2 separate regions of the Homo sapiens genome follow, and region 1 is linked to region 2. Evidence: promoter capture Hi-C in 16 types of primary human blood cells and fetal thymus (Javierre and others, 2016). All regions are on one chromosome and are shown on one strand. Each heading gives the region's core, a stretch centred on a gene start or on the middle of the fragment in contact. The rest is flanking DNA. Distances are from core to core; before and after follow the strand shown.

Region 1 (6,160 bases), core at 2,192-4,691, 120 kb after region 2:
GTTCCTCATTTCCATCTGAGACCTCATTGACCTGGACTTCACTGTCGATATCACTACCGGCATTTTGGTTACAACTAGTTAATTAGTCTGTAGGAAATTCCAAGCTTTTCTTATCTGCCTGTCTTCTTCTGAGCCCTCCAAACTCTTCCAACCTCTGCCTGCTATCCAGTTCCAAAGTTGCTTCCACATTTTTATGTATGTTTATAGCATTGTCCCACTCCTCAGTACCAATTTTCTGTATCGGGTCATTCTAGCATTGTTATAAAGAAATACTTGAGACTGGGTTATTTATAAATAAAAGAGGTTTAGTTAGCTCATAGTTCTGCAGGCTTTATAGGAGGCATGGTGCTGGCATCTGCTTGGCTTCTGGTGAAGCCTCAGTGAGCTTTGAATCATGGCAGAAGGTGAAGTGGGAGCAGGCATATCACAAGGCAAAATCAGGAGCAAGCACATGTGCTCATGTGTGAGAGAAAGAGAGAGAGAGGGAAAGAGAAAGAAAGAGAGATAGAGGGAAAGAGAAAGAGAGAGGGTGTGTGTGGGGAAAGGGGAGGTGCGACACACTCTTAAATGACCAGATCTTGTGAGAACTCATGATCACAAAGACAGCACCAAGCCATGAGGAATCTGTCCCCATGATCCAGATACCACCCCCAGGCCTCACCTCCAGCAATGGGGATTACAATTCAACATGAGATTTGGGCTGGGACAATTATCTAAACTATATCAATGTGTCTGTAGTTCATTCTTTTATTGTGGAGTAATATTTCATTGTATTATTATAATTTGTTTATTCACCAGTTGATGTATACTTGAATTATTTCCAATTGTTGGCAATTATAAATAAATACTCTGAGCATTTACATAAAAGTCTTTGGTGTGGATATCTAAGTAAATATGTAACTGTGAAATTGCTGGATTCTATGATGTTTGTGTTGAACTTATGAGAAACTGTCAAACTGTTTTCCAAAGTGACTGTTCCAATTTGCATTCCCATCAGAAAATTTTCTGTCTCACCAATTAATGGCCCAACACACTTGAGCAGTTATTCTTTTCCATCTCTTACATTCTCATTTATAAAGTGAGATTATCATAATCCCACTTTACAGGTCTGTTGTGATGATTAAATAATGAAAGATACAAATCAAGCACGAATCTCATCCCACAAACTTAGGGTTATAAGAACCGTAACTTTCTTATTGTCTCTACAGGTGAATTTAGCTTCTATTTCAGCCACCATTCTGCTAGATGATGGAAATATATTAACAGCCAATTGAGTGTCTGGGTGATTTCCAGGCAAACCCTCAGCCCTCCCTCCTCACCTCCCTGCAGTAAACCTCAGTTCTGGAGTGTTTTCTGTTGTGACAGCATGTGTCTGTGTAGGTGGACTAAGTATCTAGGTTCGTATCTAGGTACCTATCTAGGTTCCTATCACTGTCACTGTCATCCTCATACACACTGACTTCTGCTGAGATAGCTGTTTTTCAGTCTGGCTTCTGGGCATATGGCTCTTATAGACTCTGACTAAAAGGCTGCTGTAGGTTTGCCAATTTTCTGGGCTAGGTCTGAGACACAGAAGAAAACATTCAGGTGCTTCTGGTGCACTTGTAGGGAGTATAGGGACCCAGCTGGGCTGCCCTGGCCTGCCTGTCTGAACACGTTGTATAGCCACTTCAGGTCCTCTATGAAGCTTGTAGCTTTTCAAGACTTGACTCTCTTCTTTCTCTCTGGTTCTACTATGACAATAAGAAATTATTTTTAAAAATTGAAACTATTTTGATTAATATATCAAAATATTATCCAGTTACCTTATATAAATTATGTGCAAGTACTACTAGGTCATAATGTCTTTATCTGGCATTCTTTCACTAAAGGCTTTAAAATCAATGTTCTTAACCCTTAATCTATAGACAGCATAAATATTTAAATGTATCTCTTTGTTTCCTTTGCTTTTTTTAAAAAAAAAAGCTTGCTCTCTGTTTTTTGCAAGCTTCATTATTTCCATTATTTTGCCTCTAGCCATGATCATTGCTTTAAACATTAAGCTCCTCTAGAGCAGAGATTGTGTTTTTTCTAGATATTACAGCCATTTCCTGATAGATGGTTCTGATAGCTCTTCCATCTTCCCTTCTCAATCACAAAAGACAAGCGGCTCACTCTCTCCACTATTCTCAAATACAGCCTGACACTCCAGCCAAAACAGTCTGCTTGCAGTTCACCTATTCACAAGTATCTGTTGAGAATCAGCCATTCAACGGTAACCATGTCCTGTATTATGAGGCCAAGGGGCAGAAAATTTAAAAAGTAACAACATCTAATGTTTGTTGAGCACTATACATTGACTTTTCTAAATGTTTTACGTGTGTTATTTTATTGGGTAGTCCCAGCTCTTTAAGGTATGTACCTTTATTATCTCAGTTTTACAGATGAGAAATTCAAGTGGCTGAGAGGTGAAGCATCTTGCCAAAGTTTTCTCAGCTAGTAAGCAGTAGAGCCAGGATTCTAACCTATGTGGTCTGGCTTCCAAGCCAACACTCCCAACCGCCATGCAGAACTCAGGAGGTCTGTCAAGTTGCTACCAAACCTAAGGGCTGCTTATGTAGAAATCAGTCAAATGTGGTTGCTGGTTGCTGTTAGGAAACTGCAGTCATTGCACTTGAATAGTAATTTCCACATTATAAGTAACACTGCAGCCTAGTGAATTGAATGGTGACATGGTTCTCAGTGGTTTATAGCACGTTGCCATGTGAAAGGTGCCCTGTCTTGTGGCATGAGCATTTTTTCCCTGGTGGTAGAGCCTTACAGAGGAAATGGCTGAATAAGGCTATCAGAGTTTGAAAGCACTTTTCATGCCCTGTTCCACAACTTGTGCTCTGATCTCTCTTATACTCACCAAGTAACAAGTAACTTGTTATCCCCAGTATAGCACTCCACAGTTTACAAACCTCGAGGGTTTTTGCTCTTTGTCTTAATATGAGAGGCCGTTGGAGTTACATGCACCATCAAGTGCAATCTAACATTGATTTCCTGTTCAAGAGAATATTGAGTGGAGAGAACAAAGGCATCATGGAGCCATGGCTCTCGCTGTGGTCAGGGAGAGGAAGCAGGAGCCCAAGGAAGGGAAGCAAATGGCTCATTAGAGTGGGTGGTTAGGATGAGAGCAAACGGAGCTTAATGGACTGAAATGGTCAAGCTATGAGGAGAAAATAGCATCCGAGAATGACAAGGGCAAAACCAATAAAGAGTCAAGGTCAGAATTCAATAAAGAGAAGCTGGGGAGAAGAAATATTTCAATGTCCCAACAGAGGTGACTAAAGTGTCAAACTAAATAAGGGTGTTCCCCTAATTGTTTGAATAGGCCAATGGGTTAACCAATCTTATCCTTCTGAAGTACCCCCTCATCTCCCCAGCTAGTTTTGGAATAGAAAGAGGGTGGAAGGGTGGGGGGGTTGGGGGGGGGCGAAGAAAGAGAGAAAGAAAGGAAGAAAAATAAGGAAGGGAAATTACATTTTTCCTGAGGGTAGAAGGGAGTTTTATTCATGAATGTTGCCAAGTCTCAGAAACATGAGCTGTTGTGAGACCTCAGGAGGGGTCTTCTCTTCTTTTTCTGCTTTTCTGCTTTATTCTTCACTCTCTGTTTCTTTTTCTTTTTCTTTTTTTTTTTCTTTTTCAGGACCACAACAGTTCCTTAACATCTGTATTAGAGGCCCATCCAGATTCTTTCTCTGGTTTCCAATTCTACATTTCAGGAAGAAAAGATTCTGACTGGCTCAGCCTAGTCAGTTGCCCACCCATGAACTAAACAATTGTGCCTAGATTTGGGATCAAGTTGTATTAGCACGGCTAGTAGAAACCTACTATGTGGGTCAGGGTCCTTTCTTCATTTTCATCATCTCCCAGGCCAACCCACGTTGCTGTGAGGATTAAATTAAATAATGGGGCCAGGCACAGTGGCTCACATCTATGATCCCAGCACTTTAGGAGGTCAAGGTGGGAGGATTGCTTGAGGCCAGGAATTCAAGACCAGCCTCAGCAATGTAGTAAGACCCCATCTCTACAAAACATGTTTAAAAAAAGAAAAATTGGCTGTGTATGCTGGCATGCACCTGTAGTCCTAGCTACTCTAGAGGCTGAGACAGGAAGATCCTTTGAGCCCAAGAGTTCAAGGCTGCAGTGAGCCATAATCACAACACTGCACTCCAGCCTTGGCGATGAAGCGAGACCTTGTCTGAAATAAATAAAATAAAATATGTGAAGGGGTGTCATGAAAGTGTACAGTACTACTGCAATTCTTATAGCTGAAATATGTAACCAGAGGGAAGTGCCAAAAATTGCTTTTGTGGTAATAGTATTAGTTTTCATGCATTACAAAGATACCCTGGGTATATAAAGAATCCTCTAAATTGAAATCAATTTTCTTCATCTGGGATTTGATTCTAAACTCTTTTGCTTGCAAAAGATGCAGTGAGGCAAAAGCAGGCTTTCTAAGACCAGATCACCTGATCCGTACAGAAGATGAGTCTCGGAATTAGAAGGGGGTGGTCATCATTTGGTATTCAGAAATTAAAACAAGGTTGTTAAGCACCAATCAAGGATGTTTGAAGGGAAAAATGGCTAGATTTTAAGATTACTCAATAGAAATTGTTTTCTGGAAAAGAAGCCAATTACACACCCTGGGGAGAGTGCTTTATGTTGTTAGTGATAATTGTTCCTCATTAACTTTGCTGCAGAGACGCTTTGGTACACTATGCCTAGATGTGGATATGGTCACTTTCTTTGAGTTAAATGCAAACTACTTTAGACCAGATGGCTTCTGGTCTGTAGATTTCTATTGAATTTCCTGAATTCACCCTAAACTGTTAAAAAAAAAAACCCAAAAAACTAAAAGAAAAAATATCATAAGCTTTCATTTAAAATTTGTTTTAGAGATTCTTACACTTGAGATTACAGCATCTGATTTTAGCTGATAAAGCCTTCAATTCCATTCTGCTTCATGCTTGAAATTCGAAGCATTCTGAAAGGAATGCAGATGATTTACTTCTAACTTGCTGTGTTAGCTGGAGTAAATTATTTAACTGATTTGTGCTTTTTTTTTTTTTGAGGAGAGGTTACATTACTCAGCCTCTTGAGTGTTTCTGGGACACTTAAGTGTAAAAACCATCCTGCAGTACATTATCCAAAGTAACTCATGGCAGAGTCTGTTTTTCTCTGCCTTGATAGCAGTAGATTGTGGAGTTTTAATTACTAATGTACTTTCCATGAGGCCAAGTGATGATAAGATGCACCATCAATTTAATAGGAAATTTTCAAAGCAACAGTAGGGAGAGCAGAAGTATGTATCAATTGTAGTATACTTTTTAATTTCAGCAACATTAAAATGTAAACATTTATACATATTAAAATTGAGGAAATGTGGTGATGCCTAATTCCCAGAGATGTTCTGAAAATTAAAAAAGGTTCTCATTCCACACTGTTAAGTGTTACAATGCAAATATTATTACTTGCCTCACCCACCCCACAGCCCAGCCTTTAATAATATATTAGGGACTTGAAAAAAAATAGATATGTCATTCAATTTGGGGATCAAATTTTTTTGTGAGTGTCATTTTTTAAAGGGGGGACTATGTTATTCGTTTTTTGTTTTTTTTGTTTAGACAGGGTCTCACTCTGTCACCCAGGCTGGAGTGCAGTAGCACAATCTTGGCTCACTGCAACCTCTGCCCCCTGGGGTTAAGCAATTCTCGTGCCTTCGCCTCCCAAGTAGCTGGGAGCTTGTGCCACCATGCCTGTCTAATTTTTCTATTTTTAGTAGAGACAGGGTTTCGCCATGCTGGCCAAGCTGGTCTTGAACTCCTGACCTCAAGTGATCCACCCGCCTCGGCCTTCCAGAGTGCTTGGATTACAGGCATGAGCCACGACATCCAGCCAAGGGATATGTCATTCTCAACAACAGCTAATACACAGAGACTGTAGAACCAGAAGGAATTTTTTTTTTTTCTGAGACAGAGTGTTGCTCTGTTGCCCAGGCTGGAGTGCAGTGGCAACATCTTGCCTCACTGCAACCTCCACCTCCCAGGTTCGAGCAATTCTCCTGCCGCAGCCTCCTGAGTAGCTGGGACTACAGGCACCTGCCACCATGTCTGGATAATTTTTGTGTGTTTTG
Region 2 (5,907 bases), core at 2,737-5,236:
TTCTGTAAAGATGCCCACATCTACCAGGTGTGATAAGCCCCTTAACATCTAGATATTTCCTATTCACCCTTAAACCATCCACAGTACTTGCTATCTAACATACACCCAGTAATCATCTCTTAAACGTGATCTAAAGATATTCTCTGATGTAAAAATCATCATCATCAACTTTTTCAAAAGGACTTTTTTGGTCTGTAGAGCAATAACTATCTGTGTGACCCTTGAAGCTTTCCAAGTGGGCCCTTCTGGGGAGGGGACGAGGACTTACGAGTAGTGCAGAATTTCACAGGGGTTACTAGAACAGGAAGTGTTGAAACGTGGAGCTGAAACCACAACTCTCCAAGCAGAGGAGGGCATCAGCAGTCATGAGACAGACCCTTCTCAGCCCTGGGCTCCAGCTCTCCCAGCCTCCACCCTCGGCATCCGAATGGCCTCTCCTCCCATTGAGATGGTATTACTCCCTCAGCTCCAACCATCTCTTCTACTGGCTATCTCCAGACCAAAACCTCTCTTCCAGCTTCCAGCTCCACATTCTGAAATGTTTAACATGCTCTTCAGCTGATGCGATGACAAATTACCTTCCTCCCTAAAGCAGCTACTCCTCCTGACTCCCCAAGTGCCATAATGAACCCCACTTTACCAGTGATTGATTATTAAGCTTCAAAACCTTGCTAACTGCCATACAGTGGTATACTACACACTCACTGAAGTCATTATAATATATCTTGACTGGGAAAATAATTGCAATGTGCAGCCCAAAAAGCAAACCAAAATATATGTGATCAATGTGTTGTATATATGTATGTGTGTGTGTGTGAGAGTGCATGCATGTGCACAGACAGCAGACTGCAATGGTTAAATAGGGCTTTGGAGCCAAAGAGACCTGGTAGGGTCTGTGACCTTATGGGAGTTCAACTCTCAGCATCCAATTCTTTAATATAAAACAGACTTTGAGTATCTATCTCATGGAGAATTTATACCATTAAATAAGATACTATATAGAAAGCACTTACATTGCACCTAACAGAAGATATCCCAAAATACTAAAAGTGATTATTTCTAGGTGCTGGCACTGTAATTTTTAATTTTTTGCTTGGCTACATTTTCCATGAAAAAGCTTAAGTTATCTTTGATCCCCTTTTCATCATCTTCCTTGACTCAGTAATTCCTCCAGCTTCGGCTTCAGAAAAGTGTCTCCCACATGAGTCTTGTTTCACATTAGCAAGCCCCCTACCCTGCTGGGGACTCCATCACCTCTCCCATGAACACCTCTCATCTTCCTGTTGAGCCTCCAAAGTCCAGCTCTCCCTTCTGCACCCTGCTGTAGAATTCATTTCTTCAAAGTCCAACTGGGATAATACCATTCTCCTGCTGAATGCCCATCCTTGCTACTCAGGCTTCTCAGAGTCCACTCGGTCCACCTGCCCAGGCCCTTCTTGCTCACATTTCAAACTGGCGCACTCCCAGTTCCAGCTCCGCAGCTACCTTCCTGGTGCCTCTTTCCCTTGTCGAAATTCTGTCGCCTTCTGAGGTCTTCCACACCACCCTGCTCCCTGTCCCTATTAGAAGTTGCCCCTCTTTCTATGCTTGCTTTAAAAAAAAAAATTTCTTTAAGGCATTTATCACATTCTACCATGACATCTAGTTATGTCCCCTGCCACAGATTTGACGTCAGGCCTTCAATTTAAACAGATCAACACAAACTATTTTGCAGATATCTCAGGAATGAACTCCCAGTTCTTGTTTTGCAAGGCCTCCCCAGAGGGAGTCTCAGCTTGAGTTGTCCACTCAGACCCCATGGCCCCAAGTCAGTAAATCAATTAAAAAGCCGAAAGATTCTCTGGGCAACTTTAAAGGCCTTGTGACATTTCTTGAAAGGAACTTGTCAAAACCTGCAGCCATATCTTATCTTTATCTCAGCTAAATACCAGGCAGACCAAAGATGGCTGTTTATTTTTCTTGTGCTTCAAATAGGCTTACAGAGAGCTCTGGTCCAAGGCGTAATTATACGGATGTGGTTGTGCTTCAGTCACACCAGGAGGGACCTGGAAAAATACTTCTGGGAATGGCACGTTGACTCCCAAGCCACCATAGCAAGACTCCAGAGCATGTTTATAAACCACAGCTTCACAACAGGAGCGGCCCCGAGGTTTTTCTATCTCTTGCTCAAGTATGGAATTTAAATAATCAAAGATGATCTTCCTACTTCACCCCCGTGGTTCTGCTATGTCCAAGTTCAGACTGTAAACACACTACGTGTAGATTTATCTAATTAAAATGCAGTTCACCAGCTGTGTGATGCTTATGTCAATGAATGTTTTTTAATAAATTAAAAACGGTTGGCTTGGAATTTAAGTGGTTCTGTAAGAAGCTTAGAAAATCTTTTCAGTGAGAATTGGAAATCACTTCAATGCCAGCTACAGAGTAGGAAGACAATATCTCTTTGATTAAAAGTGTTAAGGCTGCTTTCTGAATTCAATTAAGTCTTAGTTTTCAGAACAGATAATGCTCCTGAAAAAAAAGTATGCATACCCTGAATTTTTCTAAACAATATCTTAAATGCACTAGATACATATTTAAAAGATTCCTATAACAATTTATTTTTTGGCAAATTTAGTTTTGGGAAAAGGCAGCTTTCCTAATGTTAGATTTCTTAACAATTTACCTATAGGGAAAGGAGACAACCTGGACGAGGTGAATGGAAAGGGAGGCTTTTAAAACGAGGGGATTGGGAGGAGGTGATGGGGGCCAGTAAGATGGTAGAAAAGAGGAAAAGTTTTTGATTTCTTCTTGCCTGGCCTACGCCTGGCCGAGAAAGCTGGGGAAAGACTCGCTGTTGCCTAAATCCCTGCCCTTGTCCTACTTTTAGCGTCACCCTAAATCATGTGTGTTCTGGTCCACAAACAGCTAATGTACTTCCCAAGCACAGAGAAACACTGAGCCCATGGTATGGAGCTTAGACACAAGGCGAAGAACTCACATGGACAGCACCCAGACCGGGAGGACAGCCACCTCCCACCTTTCTCAAGAGGGTTTGGGCAATCAGCTTCGCGGGGCTGAGGGACCCGGCCGCCTCCCTCGCCCGGGGTGCGCGTCTGCTTTCGCAGCCATCTGTGCGCCGGGGCCATCCCGCGGTAATCGGATCACGGACGCGCGGCCTGGGGCGCCGGAAAGGGGGCCGGGCTGTTCCAATCTGCTGTCTACACTGGCGGCGGACAAAAGTTGTCCTCTTCGTGGTAGGAAAACGCAATCGCGTTAATCCGTTGGGCCGCTGTGAAAGCCTTTCCCCCACCGGGAAGGTCTGTTTCACTCGGGGAGAGGTGACAAGGCCGCCCCCGCCCCCAGGCCAGGCACGAACCCCGCACAGCGCTTCCGGGCGCCCAGGTTTCCGAGCCAGCGGGGCCGGACTGAGGGCGCCGGGCATAAGAAAGCCGCCCTCTGCGCGCGGGGCTCTCCCGCGGGGGTTCCAATCGTGGGCACGGAGCACGCGAGAAAAATGGGGGTCGTTGGGAGGACGGCGCCGGCGCCTGGGGCGGAGGAGCCCGAAAGGGCGGGTGGGCGCGGGGACTTCCGGACAGAGCGCGGTCCCCGCGAACTTTCCCGGGACGGCGAGCCCGGCCGGGAAGAGCCCCAGCTCGCGGAGCCCCACTCACCATCTCTTTGCGGAGCAGCGCCAGAGCGGCGTCCAGGTTGGGAGGCTTGGCGGGCAGCGCTGCCGCCCGGGCCCCGCCGCCGCCCGGGCCCCCGCGGCTCAGCTCGTCCTGGATGCGCGACTTCTGCGCGTACAGCCGCTCCAGGTGCCGCCAGCCCCCAGACGCGCCGCCGCCCGACGCCGAGTGCAGCAGCCCGCTCAAGCTCTTTGGCAGCGGGGGCAGCCCGTCCACCCGCAGCCCCCGGACCGCGCCGTTGCCCGCGGCCCCGGGCGCCGCCCGGGCCCCACTCATCGCGCCGCGGCCCGGCCACGCGCCTGCCCCGCTGCAGCGAACCAAGGCTTTCCCCCGGCCCGCCCCCTTCCCGGCGGTGCCCCGCCCACTTCCCCTCCCGCGCCACGCCCCCCCGGCCCCGCCCCCTCTCCTCGAGGCCCCTGCGCGGGCCCCGGGTCCGGGTGGCGTCCGCGTCCAGCAGCCGGGCTCGCCTCCACCCGGGTCTCCTCCTCCCTCGCGCCCCTCCAGCGCCCTAATTCATCTCCAACTCCGCGTGACTACCCTCTAACCCCCCGACTCACCTCCAGCCCCGTCACGAACCCTTCTGTGCCACTCCCTAGCTCCGAACCTACTAAGCCCCCCGCGACCCGCAGCTTCCCGGTTCACCCCCATCTCTGTCCCCACCTCCTCTGAACCACCTCCCAGCTTCCCGGCTCACCCCTAGCTCCGAACCCTCTCACCCGCGCCACCCCGAACCCCAGCTTCCCGGCTCACCCGCATCTCTGTCCCCACCTCCTCTGTGCCAACCCCCAGCTTCCCGGCTCACCCCCAGTTCCGCCCCCACGCCCTCTGTGCCACCCTCAGCTCACTGGCTCACCCTCAGCTCCGAACCCACTCACCCCCCACCCCAGGCTTCCGGATCACCCCCATCTCTGCTCCCACCTCCTCTGTGCCACCCCCAGTTCACTGGCTCGCCCCCAGCCCCGTCTCCACTCCCTCTGTCCCACCCCTCAACGCCCGCTCACCTCCAACCCGGCTCCAGACTTCCCCCTTACCTGCCAGCGCTCCTCAGCTCCTTGCCTCACCGATCCCTGCCCTGCCCAGGGGGCGGCCCAGCTTCAGATCCCACGAAGCAGGCCGTTGCAGGGGGTGGGGGTACCGAGGCTCTGGCTCACAACCGGCAGGACGTCGAGGGCAGGAGGCCTGGCTCTGGTCCCAGGACCCCCGGCCCTCCCCGAGGGCGGAATCCAGCCCGCCTCCTGCTGCCTCCCACTCGCCGCGGGGGGCGGCTGGGGGCCCCAGACCCGGGCAGGTCGCTCCTTGCCGCCGGGCGCGCTGGCCTTCTCAGCACGGCCTTGTCCAGCAGTACCCGCAGCAGTCAGCAAGAACGCCAGACCCACTTTTGAAACTTCAAAACACTAGTAAACATGCCTTTCATTCTGGCCATAAACACAAGAGTAACTCTAAGTGGAAATGTCAGGAAACCAGAGAAAGGGATTAAATCTCGGAAATTATCCATCAGCTCAGGCAAAAATAAACACGACGCACACCTCAGAGGAAAAGAGAAGAGAGAGAGAGACTCTGCCCCTCCCAGGAAAAGTAAAAATGACAGGCAGTTATAACCAGATTAGAGATAGAAAAGATCAAGAAGTAAACGCTACAGCCCAACCGCAGATTAAAAACTAATGCAGTGTATAGATTGGATAACTTTAATGCCCATTCATTATTGGCTTTAATTATAAAGGGATTTAATTTTCTAGCTACATTCAAGGGGATCAAAATTATAAAGTGTTCTGAGCACTTCAGACACCCAACATAAAAGAGCCCTGCACTTTGGGTTGTTTTATACCCTTTACCACCTCCTAGAGCCCACCCCAGAAGCAGTGTCTTTGAAATTGGCACAATATTCTCCCTGGACGGTTGCAAGTGGGTGAGACTGATATGAAGAAGCTTTAGTGCAGGCGGTGTGATTGACAGCACCCAGGCTTCCCACCCCACCCACTGCCCAGAATTTTCCGCCTCTTCACTGTGCCTCACCTTCTACTAATTACCTAGTCACATTTCTGGATGTCAGGTATTTATTCATTCACTTATGTAAACGGTGGGTGTCTTCAGGAGAGTGACCAGTCTGCCTGTGTGGGAGTAAGGGAGAGGAAGGGGTGGGAAGCATTTTGACATTCGGTTCACACCTTAGCATGAATTTTTTTTTTTTTATGAGACAGTCTATCACTCAAGCTAGAGTGCAGTGGCGTGATCTCAGCTC

The links. The method cuts DNA at HindIII sites, captures the fragments that hold promoters and counts their contacts. A CHiCAGO score of 5 or more calls a contact.
Region 1: a fragment that was not itself captured here is called in contact with the fragment with the promoter of FAM89A in region 2 in 1 of 17 cell types (erythroblasts); the score reaches 6.4 in erythroblasts.

What each region holds. Positions count from the first base shown.
Region 1 is chr1:231,152,460-231,158,619 of GRCh38, forward strand. No RefSeq gene overlaps it. Among named protein-coding and RNA genes, the nearest start is that of TRIM67, 6.5 kb to the right of the region's middle. The HindIII fragment of the contact is 2,913 bases long and covers 1,986-4,898 here.
Region 2 is chr1:231,036,268-231,042,174 of GRCh38, forward strand. It overlaps FAM89A (family with sequence similarity 89 member A), which reads right to left and starts at 3,987. Exons shown (of 2, transcript NM_198552.3): 1 at 3,654-3,987. The coding sequence starts at 3,944. RefSeq lists an enhancer at 2,665-3,346 and silencers at 3,009-3,088, 3,729-3,778, 4,039-4,148. The HindIII fragment of the contact is 3,223 bases long and covers 2,370-5,592 here.